Linked DNA regions of Homo sapiens: region 2 is linked to region 1. Evidence: promoter capture Hi-C in human tissues and cell types (Jung and others, 2019). All regions are on one chromosome and are shown on one strand. The core of a region is centred on a gene start or on the middle of the fragment in contact, and the rest is flanking DNA. Distances in the headings are between cores, read along the strand shown. Region 1 holds the start of JMJD7 (jumonji domain containing 7). Region 2 holds the start of MGA (MAX dimerization protein MGA).

The links. The method cuts DNA at HindIII sites, captures the fragments that hold promoters and counts their contacts. A contact is called where the count stands out against the background at its distance.
Region 2: a fragment that was not itself captured here is called in contact with the fragment with the promoter of JMJD7 in region 1 in 1 of the 25 tissues and cell types used here (dorsolateral prefrontal cortex).

What each region holds. Positions count from the first base shown.
Region 1 is chr15:41,825,828-41,832,639 of GRCh38, reverse strand. It overlaps JMJD7 (jumonji domain containing 7), which reads right to left and starts at 4,548. Exons shown (of 8, transcript NM_001114632.2): 1 at 4,452-4,548. The coding sequence starts at 4,515. MAPKBP1 (mitogen-activated protein kinase binding protein 1) reads right to left here. Exons shown (of 31, transcript NM_014994.3): 31 at 4,785-6,812. JMJD7-PLA2G4B (JMJD7-PLA2G4B readthrough) reads right to left here and starts at 4,548. Exons shown (of 25, transcript NM_005090.4): 1 at 4,452-4,548. The coding sequence starts at 4,515. RefSeq lists a silencer at 4,571-4,660 and enhancers at 4,395-4,689, 4,721-4,950, 5,996-6,812. The HindIII fragment of the contact is 30,158 bases long and covers 1-6,812 here.
Region 2 is chr15:41,657,530-41,664,643 of GRCh38, reverse strand. It overlaps MGA (MAX dimerization protein MGA), which reads right to left and starts at 4,239. Exons shown (of 24, transcript NM_001400225.1): 1 at 4,119-4,239. The HindIII fragment of the contact is 3,273 bases long and covers 1-3,085 here.

The DNA of each region.
Region 1 (6,812 bases), core at 3,299-5,798:
AGAGTTGGTGTGCCTGCTTGCTTCCCTGGCTAGAGGCAAGATGGCACCCATCCAGTAGATATGGAATCCAGGAGACAGCAAAGTGGCAAAGGCCTTCCCAGTCACGCCAGCCCATCCAAGCAGTCACCTTGAGAGATGGGGTGGTCTGGGGCTCAGTACATCTTCCTGTTGTACTCGCTGAGATTAAGAGACAGAGTCTTGCTCTGTTGCCCAGGCTGAAGTGCAGTGACGCAATAATAGCTCACCGCAGCCATAAACTGTCACGGGATCTTTGGGGTGTTGCTTTACCAGCTGGAAACCTCTGTGGCCAGTGATGCCTTTGCCTGTTTTGCTCGGGCCCATTGGGCCCACTCGGCCCTGCAGGCTGTGCTCAGCTCATGCTACCGGCCTGGATCCCACACCTGCCAAGGGCGAGTGGGGCAGCGAGGGGTGTGTGAGCGAATGAGTGTGGGGTTTGGCCACTGCGCACAGCTAGGCATGTGGGCTGCGGTGGGGCAGGCAGCTTCAGGTGCCAACACAGGTGCTGGTTTCCTGCAAGGCTGCAGCTAGACCAGGTGTACCATAAGCAGCTTCCACAGCTGACACTGGGAAGCATGGTGGTGCCTGGAAGCTTGCAGATACCAGGAACCGCAGAGCCCTAAAGAGGGTGTCAGAACCCCAGCTTGGGAAGCTCCTGGGTCTGGACTCCCCAAAGGGCCGCAGTTCTTCTTTCCTTCTGGACACCCACAATGTGGCGAGCAAGACGCATGGTTCAGTCCTCTTCATGTTACAGCTCTTTTAGCCCCGCCACTCAGCAGGTCCCAATTCTTGTCCTGCATCCAGGAAGAATGAGGTACACACAGACAAGCAGAGGGTAAACAAGACAAAGAGGAGCTTTACTGAGCCATAGGATAGCTCAGAGGAGACCCACAGTGGGCAGCTCCTCTCCGCAGCCAGGGTGTCCCAACGAGTGTTCAGCTCTCAGCAAAGAGGATAGCTCCTCTCTCTGCAGGCAGGTAGTCCTGTTGAGTGTTCAGCTCAGCAGAGCTTTGTTCCAGCTGCTCACTCAGACTGGAGTGTCTTTCTGCTGGTTTTTATAAAGTGTACAGGGCTTCGCTTTGCTACATTCATGCTCTAGGTCGAGCCAAAAGGCCGTGGTTTCCATTTGGTGGTTACCACATCCTGCTCCAAATGGTCCCGGCACTGATGTTCACCTCTGAGGTCACACTGCATCTCTCACAGCCACACCATGCCAGTCACCTTTACTTTCTGATCAGTTGGAAAGTGAATGTTCTTAGATCAAATATTGTAACTGAGTGAGAAGACCCCACTGGGCCCAGGAATACTGGAAAAGAAAGAGCTGGCATGCCTGCTTGCTTCCCTGGCTAGAGTAGCTCCTCTCTGTGGGCAGGTTGTCCTGTCATCTCTCCAGCTCTCAGCAGAGAGGGTAGCTCCTCCCCGCAGCTGGTCGTCCCATCGTCTCTTCTGGTCTGGCTGAGTCAGGGGCTTTTTATGGGTCTCACAGGGGAGGAGGTACATGCCTATTGGTCCATGGGCAGCCATGGGTGGGCCGGAAAAAGCACCAAAAGTTCCCATTCCGGTCCATGGAACCGGCAGCCCAGCCCCCAGGCTTCAGGCCTTCCCTGGCTTGAAGGTCGGGCTTCACCGGGACCCGCCACCTTCCACCCAGGAACCTGTCTGCCTCTTGCCACCATTCACGGCACCCAAGCTGTTTGTGCCAAGGGGGTGCCTGCAGGCCAGCACTGAGCTGCCCTCAGCCCCTCTTGGCCTCCCTCCCATGCTCGTTGGCACCCAAAGGCCAGAGGGGGCCAAGGAGGCAGGGGGCTGGTGTGTCAGCACTGCAATAGCACCCAGGCTCGGCCTCAACTTTGCTCCATGATCTGATCAGGTGCTGACAGTGGGGAGAAGCCAGACAGCAGGATCAGGCACTTCCAAGCCTGCGGCAGCAGGAAGGGGCCTTCCTGGGTCCCCAAAAGTGCAGACATGCCTGGGTCCACAGCTGCAGCTTGGGAGGCTGCAGCTGCATCTAGGAGGGTGGGGCTCCTGCCTGCTCCTAGCTCCCAAGAGCACAGGGGTGCCTGAGTTGCAGTCCTGGCTTGGGTGGCTGTAATTGCGCCTAGGGAGCTCCCACTCCACCAACTTGGAAGGGGTGGGGCTCCCACTTGTCCCCAGTTCCCGCCAGCTCTGTGGAACATGTGGCCCCAGCTGCCTCTCCTCTTCACGTTTTCCCCACAGCGGCGGCGGGCAAGGTGCATATGGCATGGCAGCTCTGACCACCCCAAACAAATGAGCCTAGTAGTCCTGTGTTCCGGAAACAGTGAAGAAGCCAGTTTGCAGGAGCAGGGTCTTTGTGCACATGTGTGAGTATTTTTGTACTCACAAGTGCAAGTCCCTACAAGTCCCAGTTGCACCTTTGGCAGGGTGCTCGCAGGCTTCTGGGATGTGGCAGGGAGCGAGGTTCAGGCTGCAGCAGAGGGTCTGGGCTGAGGAGCAGGTCCTGCCCAGCCATGTGAGGGTGGGGGTGGTGCAGTCGGCTGCCTCGGGGATGCAGGGAACAGGGGACTCACTACCACCACTGCTGCTCCCAGAGCCACTTCTGCTGCCCGACTTGTGCCTCCCCACTGCAGCCAGCATGATGACAGCATCTGCTTCCAACTGCCCGCCACTGTCATCAAAACTGCTGGACTCAAACAATCCTCTTGCCTCAGGAGGTGGGACTACAGGCACATGCCACCACACGATGGTGTCTCACTATGTTGCCCACGCTGGTCTTGAACTCCTGGCCTCAAGAGATGCCTCCCACCTTGGTCTCCTGAAGTGCTAGGATTACAGGCGTGAGTACTGCACACAGCCTGGGATTCTGAAAATACATGGAAACTGCCATTTTTTCACCCTTTGGACTTCTGCAATTAGGGATTTGTTTTACTTGCTCACCATTTCCTTTAGAGAATGGCTGCTTTCCTCTCCTGGGGCTTCCAAGTGAGAAAATTTCAAAAGGGATCCAAACAATTGCTTTGACCCCATAACTCTGCTAAGAATTTAACAAGGCCGGGAGCAGTGGCTTATGTGTTCCATGGCGTTCCAAAACTTTGGAATGCTGAGGTGGAAGGATTGTTTGAGGAATCTGAGACCAGCCTTGTCTCTACTAAAATTCAAAAAAATTAGCCAGGCGTGGTGGCGCATGCCTGTAGTCTCAGCTACTCCCAGGTGCTGAAGCAGGAGGATCTCTTGAACCTGGGAGGTCGAGGTGCAGCGAGCTATGATCGTGCCACTGCACTCCAGCCTGTGTGACAGAGTAAGACCCTGTCTCAAAAAATATAAAGTATTTAACCAACAAACATACTCACACATGCGCAGAAGACGCTGCTCCTGCAGACTGGCTTCTTCACTGTTTCCTAAACACATCAGGCATACTCCCAAAGAGGGCTTTGCCTGCACTTACCTTCTAACCTACTTCTTCTACTCTACAATGTACTCATTCAGTACACCTGTGGTTGATTGTCCACGTTCTCACTTAGAATGTAACAGGACATAGACTGTAAAAGACAGATTTGTTTTGTTCAGTGATGTATCTCAAACACACTGAACAGAGCCTGGCACACAGAGATGCTGAATAAGTATTTGTTAAATCAATCCTCAAAGTATTCGTTGCAGCATTATTGAAAACAACGGATTGGACATGACCTAAATGACTAAGTGAATACAGCACTAGCACACAGACGTGAAAAAGACTGAGGTAGAGGAATGTGAAATGATCTCCAAGATACACGGTGCAGAAGAGTGTGTTTAGCAGGCTACTATTTGTACAAAAAAAGGGTAAAAAGTCGTGTGTGCACGGATATAAACAATCTTTCTGTAAGAATGCAAACTGGGGCTGGGAGGAAACCTTGCTTCATTTACATTGCGTACCACTGTATATTACATACCCATCACATACACATGAGCCTGTGTTGCTGTTCAGTGGTAAGAAATCATTTAAAAATAGAAAAAAGAAGGAAGGAGGGAAGAGAGAAAGAAAGAAAAGGAATAAAAACCAAGCAGGGGAAGAGCCAGGGACCATTTGGTCAGCCTGCAATCCTCCCAAAGTGCGACAAGGGAGTTGAGGTCGGAGGTGGGGCGCGTGGGGGAGGAATCCGACCACCAGCTGTGTGCCTTCGATGAGCTTTCAACAAGGGTAACAGCAAGCTGCTCAAGACTGTAGGAAACACAGGGCTTCGCCGCGACCACGGTCAAGACGGCACCGGGCCTTGGGAACAACGTGAACAGAATCACCCAGGAAGCCGCGGGAGCGCGCGAACACGGGAGAAGGGAAGCAGGTTGCCACAGAAGAGCAACCCGAGCGGGGCCTCAGGGCAGTCGCACACACGAGGTTCCGAGCCCCCGGTGTCAGCGGCATCCCAGGGCCCCTCCCGTGTTCGGAAATCGCCGCAGCCTGTGGGAGAGCCACTCACCCCTTGCAGCGGCCGGGAATTCTCGTAACTCGCTCCGCACGGCTTCCAAAGCCGCCTCCGCCATGGCTGCGTCAGCGCCGGCCGAGACCCCGCCTTTCCCCGACGCCCCGCCGCAGGCCACACCCCAAGCACTCGCCCCGCCCTCCCCAGAGTCCCCGCCGCAGGCCACACCCCCAGACCCTCGCCCCGCCCTTCCAGAGGCACCCGCCGCAGGCCACACCCCCAGCACCCCGCCCCGTCCTGCCCCTGGACACACACCGGGTTCTGCCACCGAAGCGGTGGAGCGACTGGCAGCGCCCGCTTCGGCCTGCCCCACTGGCCGGCATCCCAGGGTTAACAAACAATTGTGTTTATTGACAAGTTCATACATCAGTACAAACGGGCACGTTAAAAACAGCGCCCCCGCCCCATGCAGCCGAGGATGAGGCAGGAAGCGCCGCGACCTGCACAAAGTATAAAAGTTATAAATAAGGGGCTTTCAAAACAAGGCGGGGGCAAATCTGGAGTGGGGCGGCGGTTGCCGGTGGCCTCAGACATGCAGAAGGGGACGGGGCGCCGGCCGGGCCACGAGGCCCCCCACCCACATGGGGCAGAGGGCAGGAAAAGGGCGGCCACATTCTCACAAACTTCTGGCGAAGGGTAGCTCCCTCCTCGTGAAGGACCTGGCCCAGAGGGCGAACCTGAGTCCCACCTGCGGTGGGCGCGGCTGGTGTGGGAAGTCGGGGCACAGCAGGCACGGGCCCGCCCCCGCCGCCGCGGGAGTTCCAGGGCCATGCGGGTGGCGATGCTAGAGGAGTGGGGAAGGGCCAGGTTTGGAGCAGCTCAAGCGCACTCAGGCTGATGCCCCGGAGCTGGGAACCTTTTGTAACCCTTTTTCTTTTTTTTTTTTGAGATGGCGTGTAGCTTTGTCACCTAGGTTGGAGTGCAATGGCGCGATCTCGGCTCACTGCAACCTCCACCTCCACCTCCAGGGTTCAAGCGATTCTCCTGCCTAAACCTCCCGAGTAGCTGGGATTACAGGCGCCCACCACCACGCCCAGCTAATTTTTTTATTTTTAGTAGACAGGGTTTCACCATGTTGGCCAGGCTGATCTCGAACTCCTAACCTCAGGTGATCCACCCGCCTCGGCCTCCCAAAGTGCTGGGATTACAGGCTTGAGCCACCACACCTGGCCCAGAACCCATTTCTTTATAAGCCTCTGCCTATGGCGCAGCAGGGCGGGTGAAGGGGCTCTCGTGGCCTGAAGCTGTGGTAAAGCTGCTCTGACTTACCTGCAGCAGAGGGGAGCAGTAGGGCCCAGAAAAACCTTTCCTCAACTCTTCAACTGCCTCACGACATGGTCCCACTCTACCTCCTAGGGTCCCCTATCTCCTTTCCCTCACCCCTAATTACTGCCCTTTTACATTCTAACTTATCCCCTCACCTCTGCCACTTACCTGTCCCATCTACCACTTTTCTAGTGTCTCCTTTGGCCCCAGCACCTCCCTCCTCTCAAACTCCAGTATCCAGCACACCCGTGGGTGCCCAGCACTGCCTTTGAGGAGGCTCCTTCTACCTAAACCAGGTGTCCTATGGGCTATCTCGTATCAGCTAGGCTGTGGACACCAAGAATCCAGAATCTGGGTTCACTTAGTGTACTGCACCCCTTTTCTGCTCCCTGATAGGTGTTCCACATAAGCCAGGGTGGTGAAGCTGAGGCAGGATGTGAGGAAACCAGGCACACAGCAGCCAGCCAGATACTCTAGCAACCAACACTCAACAGCGTGCTGTGCAGGTAGGTGTGTGTGTGTACATGTGTGCACGTGCATGCGTGTGATCTCATCTGTGGCTGAGGTCCTCAGGAGGTAGGCCAGCGCCCCGTAAACGAGGGATGTTCCAACACAGGCTTCTGACTAAGCATCATTCAGGATGCAGGGAGAAGGTGGCCTCTGGGCTCCAGCAGCCGGCTGGGGTCCAGGGTGGAGGACAGGGAAGAACAAGGGGCTGAGGAAAGGAGGCCAGAGCTTCATGTTTGCCCAGGTGAGGGCTTACTGTCCTGCAGCAACATCCCACAGCTGGCTCAAGTTCTGGCCAGGAGAGTAAGGGGTCACAGGGAAATACAATGCTGGGCCCCTCTTGGAGGGAGAATGGGAGTGGAATGTGCGGGCTCAGGTCCAAATACCAACTCAAGTCTCCTGATGGCTGGGGACACCCTGGAGGGCCAGATGGCTCTGCCTTTCTGAGCTCCAGGTATTGGGGAAAACCACCCTGCTCTGGCAGCCACGGGAGTGCAGCTGGTGTGAGAGGGGAAGTGCAGGTAGAGGTGAAGGCCCACAGTTGGCTGACGGGCACTGAATACCACATCACCTCTCACCTCGACC
Region 2 (7,114 bases), core at 200-2,699, 160 kb after region 1:
GTATGCAAAACATCCTTTGTGTGTATGTGTTCCACGTGAGCACAACATCCTTAGGTGCATTTCATATGACTAAGGCAGCAAAGAAGTATATGAAAAAAAATCTAGTTATCCCAAACCTATAAATTACATGAAAAGGTGCCGAATTTATTAAACATCTTTCTATAAACTAAAATTTTGGTTTTCAGATCATTACCAGTAAAACCAAGACAGAGAAGTTTTAACCAATTCTTTAAAAATTACTGTCTTTTAAAGATTAATCTATGAAATGTCAAAGATGCAGTTGACAAAAACCCAGTTTGGTGAAAATCAGACTGCACTTGAAGTAAATTTTACACTAACTTTATATACACACACTGAGTTTTTCTTTCTGCCGAAGCAAAATATTAGTGCAGAGAAGTCATATCAACCTATTTCAACTTTGTGCACAGGCATATAATAAAAAAATGTAAAAATGTGCCTGAAGACAGGAAAATAAACTTCTGACTTATGATTTGTATAAGGCCGGTTTTTTAACTCCACTAATCAAATTAATCCATTAGTTGATGAAAATGCATTGAATTAAAGACTTAATTTATGACTAAAACCATCTCTATCTTGAGCCATAACAGCTACTGGTTTAAGAACATGGAATGAAATTCTTATTCTACATCAATCTAGGCACAGATTCCACTTCGCTATAAGCATATGCCTAGGTTTGGAGCTACCATATGAATTTTCTTTTTTTTCTAAGATAAATATTGTAAAACATTTGAATTTTCTAATCAAAGGGCAGTCAATTAAGGATATTCAGCTGTTTCAGACACACCAAGACCACTCTAAAGTCTACTTAAGCCAACCGCAAAACTCAAATGTACTTTAGAAAGGGGTAGGCTAGGCCGGGAGCGGTGGCTCGCGCTTGTAATCCCAGCACTTTGAGGGGCTGAGGCGGGCGAATCACCTGATGTCAGGAGTTCAAGATCAGCCTGGCCAACATGACAAAACCCTCTCTCTACAAAAAATACAAAAAATTAGCCGGGCGTCGTGTTGCGCACCTGTAGTCCCAGCTACTCGGGAGGATGAGGCAGGAGGTTGCAATGAGCCGAGATAGCACCACTGCATTCTAGCCTTGGAGATAGTGTGAGACTCGGTCTCAAAATAATAACAACAACAACAACAACAATAATAATAATAAAGAAAAGAAAAGGGTAGGCTACTCATGAAGAAATAAATCTTCTAGCAACATCCTAAAAATACTCTGGGAAACTAAAAGCTTTAATGAAAACCACAATTTTGGTATATATATACCTTAACATTCAAAAACTTTCAATTCGGCTTTTCAACATCAAATTTTTTTTTTATCTAGATAAAATAGCTACAATAAAAAGCCAACAAAATAAGTTGTGGAGGGGAAAATTCAGTAACACTCTGAAATGTCACACCAGAAGACATATACACACACAAAAGCTATCATAGAAAACATTTTTTAGGTAAGTAATCTAACAAGTTCCATAAATTGTTACAATTTCAGACTCCCTATTTTAATGTCTTTTCACCAGTGACCTCTTTGGGAAATGTTTATCTACTAAAGCAATGATCCTCATACAACTCACAAAATACACTAGTTTTACTAGATAGTTTCCTAATTCAATGATTAATGTACTGTGCTCAACCCCAAAAATTAGTTACACAAAATCAAAATTCCAAGTCAATACCATTATTTAAAAACACAAATATTCAAATGCTAAGCAACACATTCTGAACGTTTTCCAAATTGCTACAAACTTCTACAACCTTTCATACAATAAATACAGTAGTATGGCAGGCACCAAGATGTTAGTATATTCCTTAATATGATCCTTCACTATAAGAATATGGTTAAATTACATTTGTGAAACTCAAATTTCAAGAGAACAGGTTCACTCAGATTTCAGTATTTAGCCAATAAACACTGGGTCAAGAAATTTTAAGTTTCTTAAAAACAGAATGTGGATATAAATATAATAAAATGAAAGCAAATGGTGGCAAAGACAGTAAAATAGCCAACTATTAATACTTTCTTAATCGCTCTTAACCATCATTTGCTTATTTTTACTAATTTAATAAATGGTACTTGCCATTTATTAAGAACTACTCACTTCGGAACAGACAATATCCTGGGCATTTTATCGTCACAACCTTATAGGGCAAATGTCAAAATATTATCTGAAACACTTTTAGGTTTTAAGGCACAGAATTGCACCTGCGTAAGAGAGTACTGCCTCCTTCTCTTCCCAGATATCATTTGTTACTGCTAGCCGCAGGAGTATTTTTTATTCCTAAGAATGGACCCTAACTACAACTCAGGGCCAGAAAGCTGACAGGTCTCTAGCAGTTGGGTAAGCAGAATTTGAAGAACTTTTAAGGCAGAAACTGGCAGTAGTCAAACTTGAAGTAAGTATGCCAAGGTACCCAGGGCACTGAATTTCCTCAAGTCTTTAGCCTGTGTTTTCTGTAAAGTGGACCCAACCCACTTAACCCACACAAACGCTAGAAACAACCGTTGGCGGCAAGAAACACTAGCGCTGTTCCGATACGCAGGAAAGTAAAAGGCTCGGTCTCACTGCCTTCCCCGAGAGGAGCAGACGCCGTCGACTATTAATGACCCACAAACCGCCGCTTTTCAACTGCAAAGGACAGCTGGCCAAGAACCACGTGAAAAAATGCCGCAAGGAAAGCTCTTCCGGGGAAGAGTCCCGACAGATCACGTGCCGCCGGCCGGAACCCGATGATCGCTCTGCGGGACCCAGCCGCGTTCTGTTACCTTGGAGACTACAGAACCAGCCACCAGACCCTCCCCTGCCAACCCCCTTCCCAGCAGCCGTCACGCCGCCCCCAGGCACTTTCCCTGCAGCCTAGCCGCGGCATCGTGCCCAAAAAGAACGAACAGAGCAAGCAGTTGTTAACCAGGGACTCAGCCGCATAAGCCTGGCAAGCTCTACAACAACACGCGCGGGTGGGCTCGAGACTTCTCATGATCCACGTGTTTGCTCCGGCGAGGCGAACCTTGGGAAAGTTATCTTCCCAATAAAAGAGTGCACTTTGGTTTCTCGTGTTGGTCTGCCATCAGTAACCCCTCCTTTCAGACCTCATTTACCCGTTCCTGCTTCCACCCCGGCCAGAGAAAGAAGGCATTCCCAGGGTTCGAAAGGCAAGGCAAAAATCTGTACAGCAAGACACTACCACTTTTGCACTCCCGACCCAGTCTGAAACGATCCCTAGTTTCCCCATATTCTTCTGACACATAGATCCCTCAACTTTGGCTACTGGAGCTTTGGGGGGGCGGTGGGGGGGTGATGTTAATGTCCCAGATACCTTGCACTGAGGGCAGAGACCTACTTGACCATTTAACAGAAACGGGAAACCCCATAAACAGAACTAGGTAAAAGGCTGCCCCACAGAGGAATAAAGAAAATAACACCTGCTCTTCCCACCTGTTTTCCCCTCCCTCATTTCTGCACTTACACACCACCGGTCCTTTGTTTACCAAGTCCCCACTCCTACAGCTCACTTCCTCGCCCTCCTTTATTAAACTTGACGTCCTGCCTCAAACAATTTGGCCGGAAATTACTTGTTAGAAAAGACGTTTGCACAGGTGTCAAAACGCTGCGCCAAGTTCTCAGAAAAGCGACGCCGACACCGTTTCCCTTGGAGTTCTAGAACCACGAGACCTAGGCTCTAAACTGAAAAGCGCGTAAGCGTGGCTCTCGACCTAGAGCCCGGCGCCGGGCGAGAAGTCGTCACGCGGACCGTACCACGCGGAGCGGCACCCCACACACGCGAGGGCAGGGCCGAGCCATGGGCGCTTCTCACCCCTCCCGCCTCGTGGCCGCTCTCTCTGGCGTCGATGTTCCCAGTTAGGTAGCTGAGCGACGCGGAAGTGAGGCCGGGGACGCGCGCGAGGTGACATGCGCAGCCTCGCTCAGGGACCACAGGGGCGCGCCAAAGGCGGCCCTGCGCAAGGCCCGGCCTGGCGAGGGCGTGCGAAGCTCTCTCAGCGGAACGTTTCTCACGCCGTTCAAATACACAAGAGCTTCAAACTCTCGAAAAACTCCAATCGGGCCAGTACTAAGCGATGCCCTCCACCCAGGCCCGAGAGTTACCGTGCGGGGCGTGGCCGGCCTCACCCGGAGTCCTTCACATCCCGCTGGGGGCGGGTTATTCTGTTCGGTTCGCACACCGTGTGTCCGCTCCAGCTGAAGAGCCTGCGCGCGCGCACCGGACGTCCACGTCACCGCGCACGCGCTCCTACCCGCTCGGAGCCCGCCGCGCAGGCGCAAAAGGAGACGCGAGCAGCACCTCCCTGACCCCTCCCCCAACACCAGGAGTCCAAACGGCCCCAGAGCAGCAGCAAGACCCTTGGGACCCGCCCCCCGAGTGGAAGCCGCTGCTTTTCCGGGTCCCTGCAACCCAGAAAAGCCTACTGAAGGTTCTAGAACCAAGAAAGGCGAGGCAGGAGGGAGGCACCTAAACTCCTCAGGCTTGCACACGAAGCCTTCGTGGAAACTGTGAAACCAATGCCCGGCGGGCCTTTCTCAACTGTGCCTTTCACCCTTTCCCTAGGGCTCCTCGCCGGCTCCGCCCCGGCCGCGCCCAGCCCCACCCACACGGGGCTCCGCAGACCCCCAACCTCCACAAGCCCGTCAAATGAATCTGAGGTCTTCCACCCCGGAGTACCGGGGCTTGGACAGCTCCAGAGCATTGGGAAACCTTGAAGCCAAAGACCTTGAGAGACGGATGGTCGAGTTTACAACATCCACAACCGAAGACGACTAGGAAAATGGGGAGGAGACCGAAAGACTCAGTGCGCAGTTGGAAAGCGAAGAGTTGCCACTAAATTGCCGGATATAAAGATGAAAGATATCTTGATAAAACAGGGAAACGATGCAGGAGTGTGTTATCTAAGCTTTAGTGCCTTGATCCTGTGCATTCAATTTTTGTTTCTTCAAGACATTTAAGCTATGAGGTGCAAAGAAAGTATTAGTGAATATCTATTATGTGTCAGGCAGTTGCTGAAGTAAATCAATGGACAGTATTTCTCCTAACCTTCAAAAAGTAGTTTTCTTTCTCCTTCTCTACTCCTTACCAGCTGTTCTTTCTTCTGTGCTCCTGACACCAGTAAAAAGGAAGCGTAGTTTCTTAAAAGGCAAAAAAGAAGTAGGGAGTAGGAGAGCAGATTTTGTGGTCAATGATCCAAAACTGCCTTCTTTGATAAGAATTAGCAAGCACTGAGAACCTACTACGTGACATGCTATGTGACAATACAAAACACTATGAAGGAGAATGAGAAGACTAAGGAAGGAGTCAACAGAAGGAGGCTTATCCAACACTACTGATCTGACCTACTTTTTACTTAGGAAGGTCATATTTCTCTACACTTTGCTCTTCCTGAGGAGATATACAACAACATTGACAGAAACTGCTGGAATAGTCTGAACTAGAAAACGTGTAGGCTACTTTAGAGACTTCTGAAGGCATTCTGAAACCCCAAGTCAGGCACGGTCAGCAAGAGCATTCAAGATCCTAGGCAAAATTGAAAAGTAACAGTTTAACACCTTCCTCCTCTTCCCTGAACCCAAGAACTTCTTTCCTACAAGCTGCCCTGTCAGAATCTCCCACCTTACCAAGAATGCCTTCCTCTCAAGGATCTGAGGTTTCCTCATAAAAATTTTCCATTTTCTGGGGAAGAAGTAAATTTATGTTGATTTAGCATTAAAATATATGATCATAAGGTGTGAATGACTGGTTAACAACCATGCATCCCCAAAGAGACAAGTTAACCCAAATGATCTCTCTAACTGGGGGATCTGTGAGGACAACTTGGGAAGAAGGGGAATGGAGATTCTCTTTTGGTACTCCTTCCCTACACCAGGCAAACATATAACTAAATACTAGATACTTTAAAAAAACAAAACAAAAAAAAAACGCTGAACTTTGAAGATTCAGTACTACAGATCTCGGTGGGAGAGGAAAACTATCCATAGTTTTTCAAAGTGGAGTCCGCCTAACCTAGAGAGGTCGGGAGATGTCAAGAATCTGAGGGTCCTATGAGAACTTTTAAGTGTTTTTAGATGATATTCTAAAAATAATCATACCACCACACACATTTCAGGGATCCAGTTTGGATTTACCATCATGCAGGTACCAAGTAACCGCTTGTTTTTCTTTTTTATTTTTTGTTTGCTTTGAGTAACCACTTAAATGGTTACATTCAACTTTTAATGCAGCATTCTCATACTAAAGTTCTTGGTTGTATACTTTGGATAATGTAAGAAATTTCCTCCTTTAAAAGGCATCCATATATAACCGAAGGTTTAAGAATGCCAAGCTAACTGCTAAAGTGATGCTCCTAAGTTCCACCTTTTTCAGTTATCATAGCTCAACTTATTGGTCCAGCCTAACACAAAAGTCTTTGCCTTGATTTTCCTAGACTGCACGTTCAAGTAGATTTTTCTGAATATTAAGGGGAAACAAACAAAAAACTAGAGAGAATGCATGCAATTAAACAGTCTGGCCTAGAATGTACACAGTTTTGATCCTAGATTGTTCTATAAACACATAGGCACTATCTCATTTACATGCACACTTTTCCTATTCAGCAAATATCTGAGTGCCTACTATATGCTGAGGATAGGGGAAAGGCTGGCACCCCATGCACTTTTCAGATGTCTACAGCAGAACCCCAAAGATTGGCACAACTTAAGTAACAGAATCCACCAAGACAAACTTCCTCATCCAATCTATTCAGATCCAATCCTTTCGGTTCTGATTTCTAAAACATCCTCTGTCAACTGACAAAAAGACCTCACTCTTCAGATGAAACCACTACCATGAACAAACTCCTGGACTATGGCCTTGTTTAAAATATCAATATAATAAAGAACATTCATAAAATAAGGGCTACATACAGACTGAGTTGCAAAAGATGCTTGTTTTTTTTTTTGTTTTGTTTTGTTTTTACAAAAAGTCCTTCGGCCAGGTGCGGTGGCTCAGTCCTGTAATCCTAGCACTTTGGGAGTCCGAGGCAGGCAGATTGCCTAAGGTCAGGGGTTCAAGACCAGTCTGGCCAACATGGTGAAACCCCGTCTCTACTAAAAAT